5 separate regions of the Homo sapiens genome follow, and all the other regions are linked to region 1. Evidence: promoter capture Hi-C in 16 types of primary human blood cells and fetal thymus (Javierre and others, 2016). All regions are on one chromosome and are shown on one strand. The core of a region is centred on a gene start or on the middle of the fragment in contact, and the rest is flanking DNA. Distances in the headings are between cores, read along the strand shown. Region 1 holds the start of S1PR5 (sphingosine-1-phosphate receptor 5). Region 2 holds the start of CARM1 (coactivator associated arginine methyltransferase 1). Region 3 holds the start of COL5A3 (collagen type V alpha 3 chain). Region 4 holds the start of ANGPTL6 (angiopoietin like 6). Region 5 holds the start of EIF3G (eukaryotic translation initiation factor 3 subunit G).

What was found. The method cuts DNA at HindIII sites, captures the fragments that hold promoters and counts their contacts. A CHiCAGO score of 5 or more calls a contact.
Region 2: a contact is called between the fragment with the promoter of CARM1 here and the fragment with the promoter of S1PR5 in region 1, in 1 of 17 cell types (neutrophils). The highest score is 10.6, in neutrophils.
Region 3: the fragment with the promoter of COL5A3 here is called in contact with the fragment with the promoter of S1PR5 in region 1 in 6 of 17 cell types (naive B cells, fetal thymus, total B cells and 3 more); the score reaches 8.3 in naive B cells.
Region 4: a contact is called between the fragment with the promoter of ANGPTL6 here and the fragment with the promoter of S1PR5 in region 1, in 3 of 17 cell types (total CD4 T cells, non-activated CD4 T cells and activated CD4 T cells). The highest score is 10.9, in total CD4 T cells.
Region 5: the fragment with the promoter of EIF3G here is called in contact with the fragment with the promoter of S1PR5 in region 1 in 8 of 17 cell types (activated CD4 T cells, naive CD8 T cells, naive CD4 T cells and 5 more); the score reaches 10.7 in activated CD4 T cells.

Annotation. Positions count from the first base shown.
Region 1 is chr19:10,516,076-10,518,786 of GRCh38, reverse strand. S1PR5 (sphingosine-1-phosphate receptor 5) reads left to right here and starts at 1,340. Exons shown (of 2, transcript NM_030760.5): 1 at 1,340-1,389. The HindIII fragment of the contact is 9,669 bases long and covers 1-2,522 here.
Region 2 is chr19:10,870,251-10,873,255 of GRCh38, reverse strand. It overlaps CARM1 (coactivator associated arginine methyltransferase 1), which reads right to left and starts at 1,703. Exons shown (of 16, transcript NM_199141.2): 1 at 1,334-1,703. The coding sequence starts at 1,553. RefSeq lists an enhancer at 254-433 and silencers at 1,174-1,383, 1,474-1,523, 1,654-2,443. The HindIII fragment of the contact is 21,723 bases long and covers 1-3,005 here.
Region 3 is chr19:10,009,111-10,011,830 of GRCh38, reverse strand. COL5A3 (collagen type V alpha 3 chain) reads left to right here and starts at 1,327. Exons shown (of 67, transcript NM_015719.4): 1 at 1,327-1,533. The coding sequence starts at 1,446. The HindIII fragment of the contact is 8,603 bases long and covers 1-2,720 here.
Region 4 is chr19:10,101,082-10,103,962 of GRCh38, reverse strand. It overlaps ANGPTL6 (angiopoietin like 6), which reads left to right and starts at 1,285. Exons shown (of 6, transcript NM_031917.3): 1 at 1,285-1,395. RefSeq lists enhancers at 1,106-1,155, 1,226-1,275. The HindIII fragment of the contact is 11,381 bases long and covers 1-2,881 here.
Region 5 is chr19:10,118,649-10,121,557 of GRCh38, reverse strand. It overlaps EIF3G (eukaryotic translation initiation factor 3 subunit G), which reads left to right and starts at 1,659. Exons shown (of 11, transcript NM_003755.5): 1 at 1,659-1,718; 2 at 1,858-1,904; 3 at 2,387-2,470; 4 at 2,602-2,690; 5 at 2,831-2,890. The coding sequence starts at 1,699. RefSeq lists enhancers at 1,401-2,156, 2,157-2,909. The HindIII fragment of the contact is 4,736 bases long and covers 1-2,909 here.

The DNA.
Region 1 (2,711 bases), core at 91-2,590:
ACACTTATTCTCAGCCTCTGGCTCATCTCTCCTGGGGCGCCCTCACCCCACCCGCGGCCAGCAGGGCCTGAAGCATCAGGGGCAAAGGGCACGGTCCTGGAGAAGGTCGCAGCAGCGGGACCCAGCCTCCCTTCCTGAATCTGAGGGTGGAAGAGCTGGGACCGTCTGGAAGTTCCTGGGAAGTCGGGGTGGGGGCGTTTCGGGGCCAGCGGGACTGGTCGTTGGAGGAGCAGTGGCCTGGGAGAGGCGTGGGAGAGCATCACAGACAGCAACAAAGAGACACGCAGAGGCAAAGAGACACGCAGAGACAAAGAGACACGCAGGCGAGAGACTCTGAGATCCTCCTGAGAGAGATACAGAGGAAGTGAGGGAGACACTCATTCATTATCTGGGCATGGTTGCAAGCGACTGGAGTCCCAGCAGCTACGTTCAGCCGGCTGAGATGGGAGGATGGCTTGAGCCGCGGAGGTCGAGACTGCAGTGACTTATGATGTTGCCACTGCACTCCACTCTGGGCCACAGAGCAAGATCTTGTCTCAAAAAAAAAAAAAAAAAAGAAATTCTTACATTGCTGGGGTTTACTGTCTGCTAAGGACACAGCCCAGAAACACCATTAATGAGTAAATCACTTTGTCGTCAGCGATAAGGGTGGGAGAGAATCGGTCGGGGGAACACGGAATCCAGGGGGTGGGACAGGAGAGACCCTCCTTATCTGAGGAGCGGCAAGTTCCCATCACAATCCTGCCCGGGCCCGCCCCACCCCCACTCGCCCTGAGCCGGGGGCGGGAGCGGGAAATTGGGAGGGGCCTGTGCCCGGGAGCAGCGGGAACCTATCTGCTGGTGGGAGAGGACTCAGGCTAAGGTGGCCCCCACTGAAGACTCCTGCTAAGCAACCCACTGAAGACCCCTCCGAATCATCGACGGGGCGTCCTTGGGGTGCAGCCCAGGAAGCTCAGTTCACAGGTGGGTGGGCAATGGGAGGGCGCAGTGCCCGGACACCCAGGACAGAGGAGACCCCTCCGCTGGGGAGAAGAGGCTCAGGCTGCGACCGCCCTGCTGCAGAACCCTCCCTTTCCCGCCTCTCCGAGTCCTCCCACCGCGATGGAGCGTCCCTGGGAGGACAGCCCAGGCCCGGAGGGGGCAGCTGAGGGCTCGCCTGTGCCAGTCGCCGCCGGGGCGCGCTCCGGTGCCGCGGCGAGTGGCACAGGCTGGCAGCCATGGGCTGAGTGCCCGGGACCCAAGGGGAGGGGGCAACTGCTGGCGACCGCCGGCCCTTTGCGTCGCTGGCCCGCCCCCTCGCCTGCCAGCTCCAGCCCCGCCCCCGGAGCGGCGTCCGCTCACTCGGTTCAAGGCAGCGCGACTGCGGGTGGCGCACGACCAGGGCGCAGAGTGAGTGGACTGCACTGGACCTTTGGGGGCGCTGGGCTGGGCCTGACCCGGAGGGGGTCGCCCTGGCGGCCACTTTCCCGGTCTAAAAAGGCGCACCACTCCTTGCAGGGAGTTCTCCGAACTTTTCCTGGAGGCCTCTGGGGAGGGGGAAGCTGGGGGCTCCCCAGCTGGGTGCAGGACCTGGGATACGGGGTGAAGGTGGCTGGAATCCCCTGGCCACCCCCTCCTGGCCGGGCCACTGCAAGTTTCCATACTTCAGTCCTGCTGCCGGGCAAGCTGGGCGGATGGGGTTGGCCTCCCCCTCAGAGCATGTGTAACCCTGTCTCCCTGTATTTGGGCTCCCCACCTCCAGCATGGGTGAGCCAGCGACTTCCTGTCTATGTTTGCCTGCCTTGATTCTCTGTGTGTGACTGAAGCTCTCTGGGATGTCCGCATCCCTGCCTTGTGCAAAAGAGATCCATTCCCCTCCCCAGGCCTTGGCTTTCTCATCTGGACTTGCATGGGGACTATTTGTGCATGGATGTTTGTGTGGGAGCATGGAAACCTTTGCGCCTGCTTCGATACGAAGCATTTCTTTTGAGCTTCAGTTTTCTCATCTGTAAATTAGGACTAAAGGAAGTGGGGATTAATAAGGTCACAGAGGCAGGTGAGGAGTGTTATTACAGTTTAATGACATGTGTGCCCCTCTGTAAGAGTCTGTTTGCCTCTTGTGGATTCTCTCTCCTGTCCTCAGGCTCTGCCTTAGTAAAATGAGTGAATAGGATCAACTTTTTTTTTTTTTTTTTTTTTTGAGACGGAGTTTCTCTCTTGTCACCCAGGCTGGAGAGCAGGGGTGCGATCATGGCTCACTGCAGCCTCGGCCTCCCAGGCTCAAGTGATCCTCCCGCCTCAGTCTCTTGAGTAGCTGGGACTATAGGGGCATAACACCACACCTGGCTAATTTTTAAATTTTTTTGTAGAGATGAAGTCTTAGTATGTTGCCCAAGCTGGTGTCGAACTCCTGGGCTCAAGTGATACTCCCACCTCGGCCTCCCAAAGTGCTGGGATTACAGGCGAAAGCCACTGTGCCTGGCCAAGGAGCAACTTTCTCATGGGGTTTTGGGTGGATGAGGGGGTTTTGGCAGGAAAAAGCTTTGTATGCAGTGAGACAAGAGTGTGGAGTGTGGTGCACTGGGCCCCAGGCTAGTGTGAGTGGAGGTTGTGAAATTGTGGCCTGTGCCACTGGGTGGGAGACCCTGTATTCGTGTGACTGAATTTTGGTCGCTGTGTTTTTCTGCCTGCGTCACTCTGTTCCTGTATGATGTATTTTTTAGTTTCCCTGA
Region 2 (3,005 bases), core at 454-2,953, 350 kb before region 1:
AAGCCCTGGGACCCTAGTTTTGGAAACGCTGCCCCGCTTTGTTCTGTTCAGGACAAAGTTGGCTACCAATGCTTGCCCAGTGAATAGGTTTTGCTTATGATCTGGGGTTCTGTTGAGCTGAGTGTCTGCCTTGAACTCTGAAACCCCCGCTGAAATACCCTCCTTCCCCTCTCATCTGGTCCAAGAAGACCCAGGCTCTGCACCAGCAAAAAGAGACGGCACCCTCGGACAGCAGACACAACTCCTTTAGTCCACGTTTTCAAAGTCGAGGTGCAGGGAAAACCCAGTGTGAACGGACTGCTCCTCGGGCTTTCCTTTAATCGGGCCGTTTCCAAAGTGGCAAAAAATTCACACAGGACCCAAGCTAGCTAGAGGCCTCCTGAGGGGTTCCCCAGGGCATCAGTGCAAGAAGCCCTGAAAGACAAAGCCAAATGACACAGAGTAGCAAAATGTGAACAAGGAATCAAAGAGAAGAGATAAGAAGGAGTAACAAGAAGAAGAATGAACTACAAAGACTGGGAGCGGGGGTGGGGGGTGCTGGCAAACGCATTTGTGATTTTCTTTTCCCCCCAGTGAAATGTCAGTTTTGAAAGCAGCTTCGGAAAATGTAACCAGCTTCTCACATCCCCCAAAAGAAGATGGGAGGAGGCTGTTAGCTCTTACTTCGAAGCCCGGCATCAGGAAGGGGCCCGTCCCGTCCACGTTTCCACGAGGAGCTCACCCTGCGGCTCCCACCGTCCCCGCATGGGCCCTCTCCCCAGATCCTGAAGTTTCCCATTCGGGGGTCCTGAACGCCACACCTCGCACAGCGGTGGAACTCGGTACTCGCGGGCGCCCCAGACCAGCAAACACTTTCCAACCGTCCTGAGCTATCCAGGGGGTCCCCAGAGGGATCCCGGGCCGCCCACGCCCCACCCTCCTCCCTGCAGAGGCGGCCACGCCCGCCCCCGAGACGCCCACCTCTCCCGCACCCCGGACCTCCCTCCCCCACGCTTAAGCCCACCACGCCTGGCGTCCTCCAAATTCCCCTTCCACTCAGAGCCCCCCACTTCCTGCTCACCCACCCCTCCCAAATCTCAGGCCCTTCACTCCCCATTTCGCGCTCCCTTGCTCACTCTGGGCACCTTGCCCCTCCGGCCACCACGCACGCCCTCTTTTCTCTGTCTGTCCCCTGGCACCGGCCCTCCACGGTCGCTCCCTGCAGGCCACCGGCTCAGTCCCGGGGACCCCACGCCAGGCCCCCGCGCTCAGGGCCCCTCCCCGCCGGCCCCCGCCCCGGGCCGGCCTCGTGAGCAGCCCCGGCCCTGCGCCTGCCCCGGGGCCCCGTACTCACGGCTGTAGAGGGCGATGCCCGCCGAGTCCGGGCCGGCGCGCACCTCGAGGCGCAGCGCCTGCTGCTCCGCGTGCCGCTGGATCTCGCCGTTCGCGTCGCCGATGGTGAGGAGGCGGGCGCCGGGGAACACCGACACGGTAGCGCAGGGCCCCGCGCCGCCCGGGACCGCCGACCCCGCGCCGCCCGCGCCCGGCCCCACCGCCGCCGCCGCCGCTGCCATCTTAGATCCGGCTCCAGGCCCCGCCGCCGCCGCCGCTGCGCCCGGGCCCAGGCCGCCGCCGCTGCCGCCGCCGCCGCCGCCGCCGCCGCCGCCGCCGCCGCCGCCGCCGCCGCTGCCGCTACCGCCGCCGCAGCCGCCGTGCAGGCCGAGGCCGAGCCGGGCAGCGCCGCCTGCCGGCCACGCGCCGCCTCGCCGCCGCCGCCGCCACCGTCGCCGCGGCCCGGCCCCGTGGCGCAGCGCCCTCTGCCGGCCGTCCTGGGCGCGGGGAGCTAGCGAGCGAACGAGAGGGCACCCCGTGGGGCGGGACCGGCTACGCCCCGCCCCGCGAGAACGGTCGCCGCTTTGTGAGGTGGCTCCACCGCCCGGGAACTGCGGGGCGGGAGGGTACGTCGGGGGCGGTGCTCGGGCGCGCGGGCACGCCCCTCGGAGGCCTGGGCCCCGCCCCCAGGCCGGCGCCTCATTAACGGCTGCTTTCGAGTGAGGCGGTGCGGGGACGGCGGGGGCGGTGCTCGGCCGCGTGGACACGCCCTGTACCCCGCCCCACACAAGCAGCCGCGCGTCGTGATGCGGCTTCCCTGCCCCGACCTGGACACGCCCCTGAGACTGGGCCCCACCCCCCCGGGCCCGCCCGGCTTTGTGAGGCAGCCCTCAGGGAGGCGTGGCCCAGCCGCGACGAGGCCCCGCCCCCGTGCCTGCCCGCGCCCTCCCACCCGGACTCGCTTTGTCAGCCGCCCCGCTCTGGGGAATGGGCGGGGGAAAGGGCGTGGCCAGCGCCCGGGCCTCGCCCCCAACCCTTCCCCCCACCGCCCCCGCACCGACGATTTCCGATGAGCCCTGGCCTCCAGGAGCAACCTGAGCCCGGTTGAAAGGACCCCTCCCCGACATTCGACCGCTCCTCCTCCCTTCCCCATCATCTCTGCCCACATTGCCTTCTTAATCCTTAATGTTTGACTGTCTCCTTTCGCACAAGATATCCTTTGACCCCCTCCTCTCTCAGCCCCTCCTCCAACGATGCTGAGTCCAGCCTGGCCCGGCGCAGGGCCCCTCTCCCGCCACACAAACCCGTCTTCTCTCTGCATCCCCCTTCATTTTGGGTGGCCCCATCTCTTTTGGGCGACCCAGTGAGCTTGGGCCACTTCCTAGCACTCCAGCTTTAACTCTTCCCTAGACCTCATTTACGCCTCATTCCTTTTTTTTTTTTTTTTTTTTCTTTGAGACGGAGTCTCGCTCTGTCTCCCAGGCTGGAGTGCAATGGCTCGATCTCAGCTCACCGCAACCTCCGCCTCCCGGGTTCAAGTGATTCTCCTGCCTCAGCCTCCCGAGTAGCTGGGACTACAGGCATGCTCTACCACGCCCAGCTAATTTTTTATTTTTAGTAGAGACGAGGTTTCACCATGTTGGTCAGGCTGGTCTTGAACTCCTGACTTCAGGTGATCCGCCCGCCTCGGCATC
Region 3 (2,720 bases), core at 78-2,577, 510 kb after region 1:
CACTGCAACCTCCACCTCCCGTGTTCAAGTGATCCTCCCACCTCAGCCTCCCAAGTAGCTGGGACTACAGGCGCCAGTCACAATGCCTGGCTAATTTTTGTATTTTTAGTAGAGATGGGGTTTCGCCATGTTGGCCAGCTGATCTCTAACTCCTGGACTCAAGCGATCTGCCCGCCCCAGCCTCTCAAAATGCTGGGATTACAGGCATGAGCCACCGCACCCAGCTCAGACTCCCTCATTTGGTGGGGATTTGGGATTGAGGCCGGGGCATCCACTGGAGACCTGAGTTGGGGCGGGGGGAGATGAGGGTTAGGGATGGAGATGAGACCCTTTATTTGAGGAATCAAGAATTTGGGGAAAGTGAAAACTGTGTTTTGGGATCTGTGGTGAGAATTTGGGACCAGGACACGTGACTTAGGGATTTGAGTGGACAGATGAAGGTTTGGAGTAAGGCTGGGGACCCCATTTTGGGATCTGGGGTGAGATTTGAGGTGGGATGAGGACCCGTTAGGGACTTGAAGGAAAGGCTTTGGGGCTGAGGCTGGTACCTCCTATTGTGCAGCTGAGGGACTGAGGATAAAGCAGGTAGGTGAGTGAGAGTTCGGGGTGAGGTTGGGACCCCAGTTGGGGGCCTGAGTGAGGCAGAAAGGACTTGGTGCCAGGGGCGGTGGCTCATGCCTGTAACTCCAGCGCTTTGGGAGGGCAAGGCCGGAGGATCGCTTGAGACCAGAAGTTCAAGACCGGCCTGGGCAGCATAGCAAGATCCCGGTCTCTACAAAATATACATATTTTAAAATTAGCTGGGTGTGGCAGTGTGTGCCTGTGGTACCTGCTTCTCAGGAGGCTGAGGCAGGTGGATGGCTTGAACGCAGGAGTTGGAGGCTGCAGTGAGCTATGATTGCACCACTGCACTCCAGCTTGGGTGACAGATCAAGACCCTGTCTCCAAAATAAAATGTAAAAATAATAGAAAATAAAAAAGATTTGGTATAAAGCTGCACCTCCTCCTAATTCTAGGGCCTGGATGGAGGCTGAAGTCTTGAATGAGGTTAAGGTCTCCTTTGAGGGGATCTGCTAGGCGGAAAAGGTTTGGGGTAAGACTGGAACCCTCGAACTCTAGGGCTGGGTGGGAGTGACCCTTCTCCTCCACAGTGGGGTGGGGCAGGAACAACCCAGCTCCTGGCGCTGGGCTCCACCCCAGCCAGCCAATCAGCCCTCAGCACAAAGTTTCCCAACTTCCCAGTCCAGCTGTCAGCGCTCCCCCTCCAAAAAGCCCCGCCTGGCCAGGCGCTGGAGCGCAGGGCGAGGCCAGGGCGGGGTCTCGGGCAGTTTCCCGCGGACCCTGAGAGGAGCGGCCGCCGCGAGTGACTGCACCGAGCCCGAGAAGTCGCCGCGCCCCGCAGCCGCCCCGACTGGTTCCCCGCCTTGCCCGTGGGCCCCGCCGGGATGGGGAACCGCCGGGACCTGGGCCAGCCGCGGGCCGGTCTCTGCCTGCTCCTGGCCGCGCTGCAGCTTCTGCCGGGGACGCAGGCCGGTGAGCCGGGAGGGAAGAGATGGGACCCAGGGTCCACGACTCAGAGAGGCTCTAAAAGAGCGAGGGGTGGAGGGGGGTGGAGGGGCGTGGAGGGGAAGGGCGTGGGCGCCGCGTGCGGCCCCGGTGTGATGTGGGCGCATGAGTATCTGACTCTGGGTGATTTGTGGGTGTGACAGCTCGGGGTGGGGGTGGGGATGTGTGAGTGCGTTTTCTGGCGAGCGCGTGGGAATGCATGCAATGTGCAGGTGTGTGCATGTGTGTATGTGTGTGTAGCATGTGTGTGCATTTGGAGTGAAGTTGCGTATGTGCTTGCGTGTGGAGGTTGATGGTGATAGTGTGACTGTGAGTGACAGGGCAGTGCTGGGACGGTGTGTATTGCGACAGGTGAGTATGCACTTGTGCTCTTGTCTATGTGCTGATTTTCGAGGGTAACCGTGTGAGTGGTTATGCGTGTGATTGTGTGTCTCTGAGTGCCGCTATGAGGGGTGTAGTTATGATTTTTGGGTGCAAATAATTGCCCATGAGGATGAAGGTGGGTGGGGACAAGTATTGGGGGGTGCTCTTCGGGAACCCACAGTTTCCTTTGCGTCTCTTTAAATGGCTTCACCTCATTCTCCCTTTTCCTCCTCTGCCCCAAATTGGCGAGCGCCCATCTCCTCCCCTCCCTCCCTGTTGCCCCCTCCCCCACCCCGCGGTCCCCAGAGCCGCGATCAGCACCATGGACAGGGCTTCGGGGAGGGCCGCGGTGAGGGGCGAGACGGGGCGGGGCGCAGGGCGGGGCAGGAGTGGAAGTTGCTCCCCCCCTCCCCACCCCAGCTGCTGGAGCCTTGGGTGTTTTTCCCGAGGAATTTCTCAGGAGCCCCCAAGGGGTCCCGGGGGCCGCCGGATGGGTGAGTCAGCGCTGACGCACGCCCAGCTGCGCGCATCTGGCTGGGCGCCCTGTCCCGCCCCTCAGGGTTCAGAGTGGGGGGCGCTTCGGGAGTCAGGGGATGGCGTAGCTTCTCAAGTGTTGGAGATGGGGCTTCCCTGATCTGAGAGACCCTAGACTAGGTCCTCCTGGAAATCCCTTTCTAAGGTGAGCTCAGTCTCCCAACACACACACACACACACACACACACACACACACACACACACACCACAGCACACTTCTTACTTTGGAGTCCAGGAAGGTGCCTGTCCATATGGTT
Region 4 (2,881 bases), core at 36-2,535, 410 kb after region 1:
GGCCACCACACCCGGCAAATTTTTGTATTTTTAGTAGAGACGGGGTTTCACCATCTTGGCCAGGCTGGTCTCGAATTGCTGACCTCGTGATCTGCCCACCTTGGCCTCCCAAAGTGCTGGGATTACAGGCGTGAGCCACCGCGCCCAGCCTTACATTTTTATTTCTAATTATAAAATCCAGATTAATCCAAAAAACATAAATCACATGTAACTGAGGTAGGGTTTTCACTTTAAGAATATATTGTTTCTATCACAATTTAAAAATTTACAGCTGTGTCTTTTATATTTATTTTTTATTTTAATTAATTAATTCCTCACTTTATTATTATTTATTTATTATTTATTTATTTATTTATTTATTTATTTTTGAGATGGAATTTCAGTCTTGTCGCCCAGGCTGGAGTGCATGCGGTTGCTCGATCTCGGCTTACTGCAACCTCCACCTCCTGGCTTCAAGCAATTCTCCTGCCTCAGCCTCCCGCGTAGCTGGGATTACTGGCGCATGCCACCATGCCCAGCTAATTTTTGTATTGTTAGTAGAGACGGGGTTTTAGCATGTTGGCAAGGATGGTTTCGAACTCCTGACCTCAGGTAATCCACCTGCCCCGGCCTCCCAAAGTGCTGGCTTTCAGGCATGAGCCACTGCACCCAGACTTTCGCTGGGTGTTAATGTGTGCGTGCGTGCAAATGTGTGTGTGTGTGTTTGTGTCCACTCTGTTATGTGCCCATATGTGTGTGACAGCTGTGGTGTACATGTGTGAGTTTCTGAGTCAAGCTACCTTGGCTGGCTCCCATCCTGGTCTCTTTTTGGCTGTGTGACCGCAGGCAAGTTGCTTACCCTCTCTGAGCCTCAGTTTTCCCTGCTGTAAAATGAGGGTACATACAGAATCCAGCTCAGGTTGTAAGGATCAAATACGTAAAAGGTGTGGAGAGTTTAGAGCCAAGCCCTACACACGGTAAGTCCCCAGTGATGTTCCTCTTTCTATGTGTGGTGTGTGCGTGTCTGGGGCTGGGATCACGCCTGGCTGCCCCAGGGCCTGCAGCCTCCCACGCTCTGGGCTCTGCAGTGGAGGGTGTGGGGGAAAGGGAGGGATGTCCAGGACACTGACCTGTGTTATCAGGCTCTGGTGGCCTGGGCAGGGGGGTCTGGCAATTCTGTCTCATTTCTCATTCGGGAAATGCTAAATATTTATAGTTTGGGCTCCTGGGCCCAGCATCCCAGCTCCACTCCCAGGCTCTGGGGGCTGGGGAGTGGTTACCAAGCCTCCTCTCTCCTTCTGTCCCACTGCCCTCTCCCCGTCTCTAGCTCAGAGGCCCCACTGGACCCTCGGCTCTTCCTTGGACTTCTTGTGTGTTCTGTGAGCTTCGCTGGATTCAGGGTCTTGGGCATCAGAGGTGAGAGGGTGGGAAGGTAGGTGGAGGTTGATTCTCACTGTGGGGAAACTCCGACCACAGCTTGGCTTGGGGGCCCCCAGGCCACCCCGCCACCCCAGGCTGAGAGTGTAAAAGGCAGCGGGTGTTATACACACGTCCCAGTTCTGGGGGGTTGCTCAATCTCTGTTGTGGGGGGTGGGGCATGTCAGTGATCGGGGACAAAGAGAGGACCCTACCCCCGGATCCTTGTGAGCCCCTGCTTGGTGTCTGAGTCCAGAAGTAAATGTGGCCATCTCCAGCCCAGAACCCTCCATGGCTCCTGCCTGACTCAGAGTAAAACCCAAGTCCTCCTCCGGGCCCACAGGACCCTTCACACTTTGCCCTGACACTTCTTACCTCCTCCTGCTTCCCCCTTCTCTCTTCCGGCCTCATAGACATTTCTGCCATTTCTTTTTTTTTTTTTTTTTTTTTTTGAGACAGAGTCTCGCTCTGTCACCCAGGCTGGAGTGCAGTGGCGCGATCTCAGCTCACTGCAAGCTCCGCCTTCCGGGTTCACGCCATTCTCCTGCCTCAGTCTCTGGAGTGGCTGGGGCTACAGGCGCTCGCCACCATGCCCGGCTAATTTTTTTTTTTTTTTTTGTATTTTTAGTAGAGACGGAATTTCACTGTGTTAGCCAGGATGGTCTCGATCTCCTGACCCCGTGATCCACCTGCCTTGGCCTCCCAAGTGCTGGGATTACAGGCGTGAGCCACCGCACCTGGCCTTTTTTTTTTTTTTTTTTTTGAGCCTTGCTCTGTCGCCCAGGTTGGAGTGCAATGGCGCAATCTCTGCTCACTGCAACATCGGCCTCCTGAGTTCAAGTGACTCTCCCACCTCAGCCTCCTGAGTAGTAGCTGGGATTACAGGCATGCATTACCATGCCCAGCTAATTTTTGTATTTTTAGTAGAGACGGGGTTTCACCATGTTGGCCAGGCTGGTCTTGAACTCTCGACCTCAGGTGATCCTCCCGCCTCGGCCTCCCAAAGTGCTGGGATTACAGGCGTGAGCCACCGTGCCTGGCCCCTTTCTGCCATTTCTTGGGTGCAATCTCCGGGCCTTTGCACCTGCTGTTCTCTCTGCCTGGAATGCTCTTCCTCTTCTCTCTCTTCCATCAGGTCTTTGTGAAAGTGTCCCTTATTCTTTATTTTATTTTTATTTTTATATTTAGTAGAAATGGACTTTCACCATATTGGCCAGGCTGGTCTCAAACTCCTAGGCTCAAGCAATCCTCCTGCCTTGGCCTCCCAAAGTGCTGAAATTACAGGCATGAGGCACTGTTCCAGTCAAGTGTCACTTCTTCTGTGAGGCCTTTCCTGACTCCTCTATTTTATTTTTTTTTGAGACAGAGTCTCGCTCTATTGCCCAGGCTGGAGTGCAGTGGTGCAATCATGGCTCACTGCAACCTCTGCCTTCCGGGTTCAAGTGATTCTTGTGTCTCAGCCTCCTGAGTAGCTGAGACTACAGGC
Region 5 (2,909 bases), core at 410-2,909, 400 kb after region 1:
AAAAAAAAAAAAGTTGTTTTTTAGAGATGGGGGGTCTCACTATGTGTTGCCCAGGCTGGTCGAATTCCAGGGCTGAAGTGATCCTTCTGCCTCAGTCTCCCAAAGTTCTGGGATTACAGGCGCGGGCCACCACACCCAGCTAATTTTTGTATTTTTAGTAAAGACGGGGTTTCGCCATATTGCCCAGGCTGGTCTCGAACTCCTGACTTCAAGAGATCTGCCCATCTTGGCCTCTCAAAGTGCTGGGATTACAGGCGTGAGCCACTGCGTCCGACATTGTCAAACGTTTTTTGTTCATTATCACCCTTCTTAGGAGAAAACCCGAATTATCCTAAAATTGAATTTACATCAACTAAATTAATTTCAATTTAATTACATTTAATATCTCCCTAAAGGCAGAAACTAAATACTTAGGGATAAATGCTGTCTGATAGAGCTGGCTTTGGAAGACCACAATATCTAAGATTTTTTTCCTCCCTGAGGACCAGTTTTTTCCCCTGGGGAGTCATCATGAATCACTTCGACTGAGGACGGTTGTGCTTAGAGCAAGGAGCTGAGCAATAAACAAGTAAATGCACAAAATTATACCGGAAAGCCAAGAATGCTACAAAGAAAAGAAGAGGGAGTGGCTGAGGGGAGGCCACTTGGCATCTGAATCATTGGGATCGGGAAAGAAGACAAGGAACAGTTTAAGCAAAAGGATTGTTTTCCCCGAACTTTGGTTTCTTTTTTCTTTCTTTTTCTTTTTTTCTTTTTTAGAGACAGGGGTCTCACTATGTTGCCCAGGCTTGTCTCAAACTCCTGGCCTCAAGCCATCCCCACGCCTTGGTCTCCCAAAGTGCGGGATTACAGGCAGGCGCCACTGCACCCAGTCTGAGCCTCAGTTTCTTCAGCTGTAAAATGGAAGTAATATCCTCCTCACCATGCTTCATATACAATAAGCACTCAATAAGTGAGCTTTATGATTATTATTATTTATTTTAATTTTACTTATTTTTCTGAGACGGAGTCTCACTCTGCAGCCCCAGGCTGGAGTGCAGTGGTGCGATCTCGGCTCACTGCAGCCTCCGCCTCCTGGGTTCAAGCGATTCTCCCGCCTCAGCCTCCCGAGTAGCTGGGATTACAGGTGCCCACCACCACGCCTGGCTAATTTTTTTTTTTTTTTTTTTTTTGAGACGGTGTCTCGCTCTGTCGCCAGGCTGGAGTGCAGTGGCGCGATCTCGGCTCACTGCAACCTCCGCCTCCCGGGTTCAAGCGATTCTCCTGCCTCAGCCTCCCGAGTAGCTGGAACTGCAGGCACGCACTACCACGCCCAGTTAATTTTTGTGTTTTTAGTAGTGACGGGGTTTCGCCACGTTGGCCAAGCTGGTCTCGAACTCCTTACCTCAGGTGATCCGCCCGCCTCGACCTCCCAAAGTGCGAGGATTACAGGCTTGAGCCACCTCGCCTGGCCTATTTTAATTTTAAAGGTTAATAGGACCAGCCCTGAAATCAGCCTCTGCCCCCGCTGGCCCTACTCTGGTACCAGCAGCGCCCAGTAGCATACACAGCCGCGTGCGCCTCCACCTCCGTCCGCAGGTGTCGCTGTGGGTGCCGCGGCTGGGCCCCTCTAGGCGGCGACGGCGGCACCGGAAGTCTCGTTTTCGCCCGCTTCCGCTCTCTGGCCGGGCTTGGGCTGCGTGGAGAATACTTTTTGCGATGCCTACTGGAGACTTTGAGTGAGTCGGCGATCGCGGAAAGGGGCACGGGAAGCGGTTGGGGTGCTCTGGGAAGTATTATGGGGCCTGGGTACGCCGAGGCTGCGGGAGCCGGGCCTGGCTGACTTAATCTTCGTTCCCCACACATTTGTTTCCGCAGTTCGAAGCCCAGTTGGGCCGACCAGGTGGAGGAGGAGGGGGAGGACGGTAAGTGTACACGGTCGCCCGGGGTATTCGCGGCCAGGCCCAAGCCGTGTGACTGCCGCCTGCTTCCATCTCCCAGTCTGGCACCGTGTACCCCGTCACGGTCTGCCCCTGCCCCGCGCCATCCTCCTTGGGACCCGCCTGTTGCCAACTCCAGGTGTTCCCCGGCGGGTCCCTCTTCCTCCCATGCCACTGCCTCCCAGCTGTTCCCCTCCAGGGAGGAAGTTGTAATCTCCCGTCTCCTGTTTCTCTACTGGCGCCTGGTTGGCTTCATGGCCTGGCACCCACCTTCCTACGAGGGATCTCCCATCCTTGCCACTCCGAGTCCCCACAGGGCCATCCCAGTGCGTTGCCTGGCCAGCCCTCTGCCCTTGGCCTGCCTTTCTCCGCTTTTGCTGTAGGCGTCATCCCAAAAGCCCTTCCATCGCAGCTGGGGAGCTCCTGCCCCTGGAGCTGACTCCTCCTTCCTACGCTGCCTTTTGCAGACAAATGTGTCACCAGCGAGCTCCTCAAGGGGATCCCTCTGGCCACAGGTGACACCAGCCCAGAGCCAGAGCTACTGCCGGGAGGTGAGTGAGGACTGCCGGGAGGTGAGTGAGGACTGCCACTCGGTGTCCGGGCTGCCTCTCCCTCCAGCCCTGCCGCTCCTGATCCCCATGACCCAGGGCTCAGTCTTTCTCTGTTTTTCCCCTTCTGCCAGCTCCACTGCCGCCTCCCAAGGAGGTCATCAACGGAAACATAAAGACAGTGACAGAGTACAAGATAGATGAGGATGGCAAGAAGTTCAAGGTGAGGGTGGGGGGTGCAGGGAGTGGGGACCCTTGTGCTTGGGGGCCCATAGACCGGAATGGGGTGGGGTGTGTTGAGGAGGTTGATAAAGGAGATCCCTTGGTCCCAGGAGCCTGACCCTTCTCCCCTCCCATCCTCAGATTGTCCGCACCTTCAGGATTGAGACCCGGAAGGCTTCAAAGGCTGTCGCAAGGAGGAAGGTGAGGCTCTTCTTCCCCA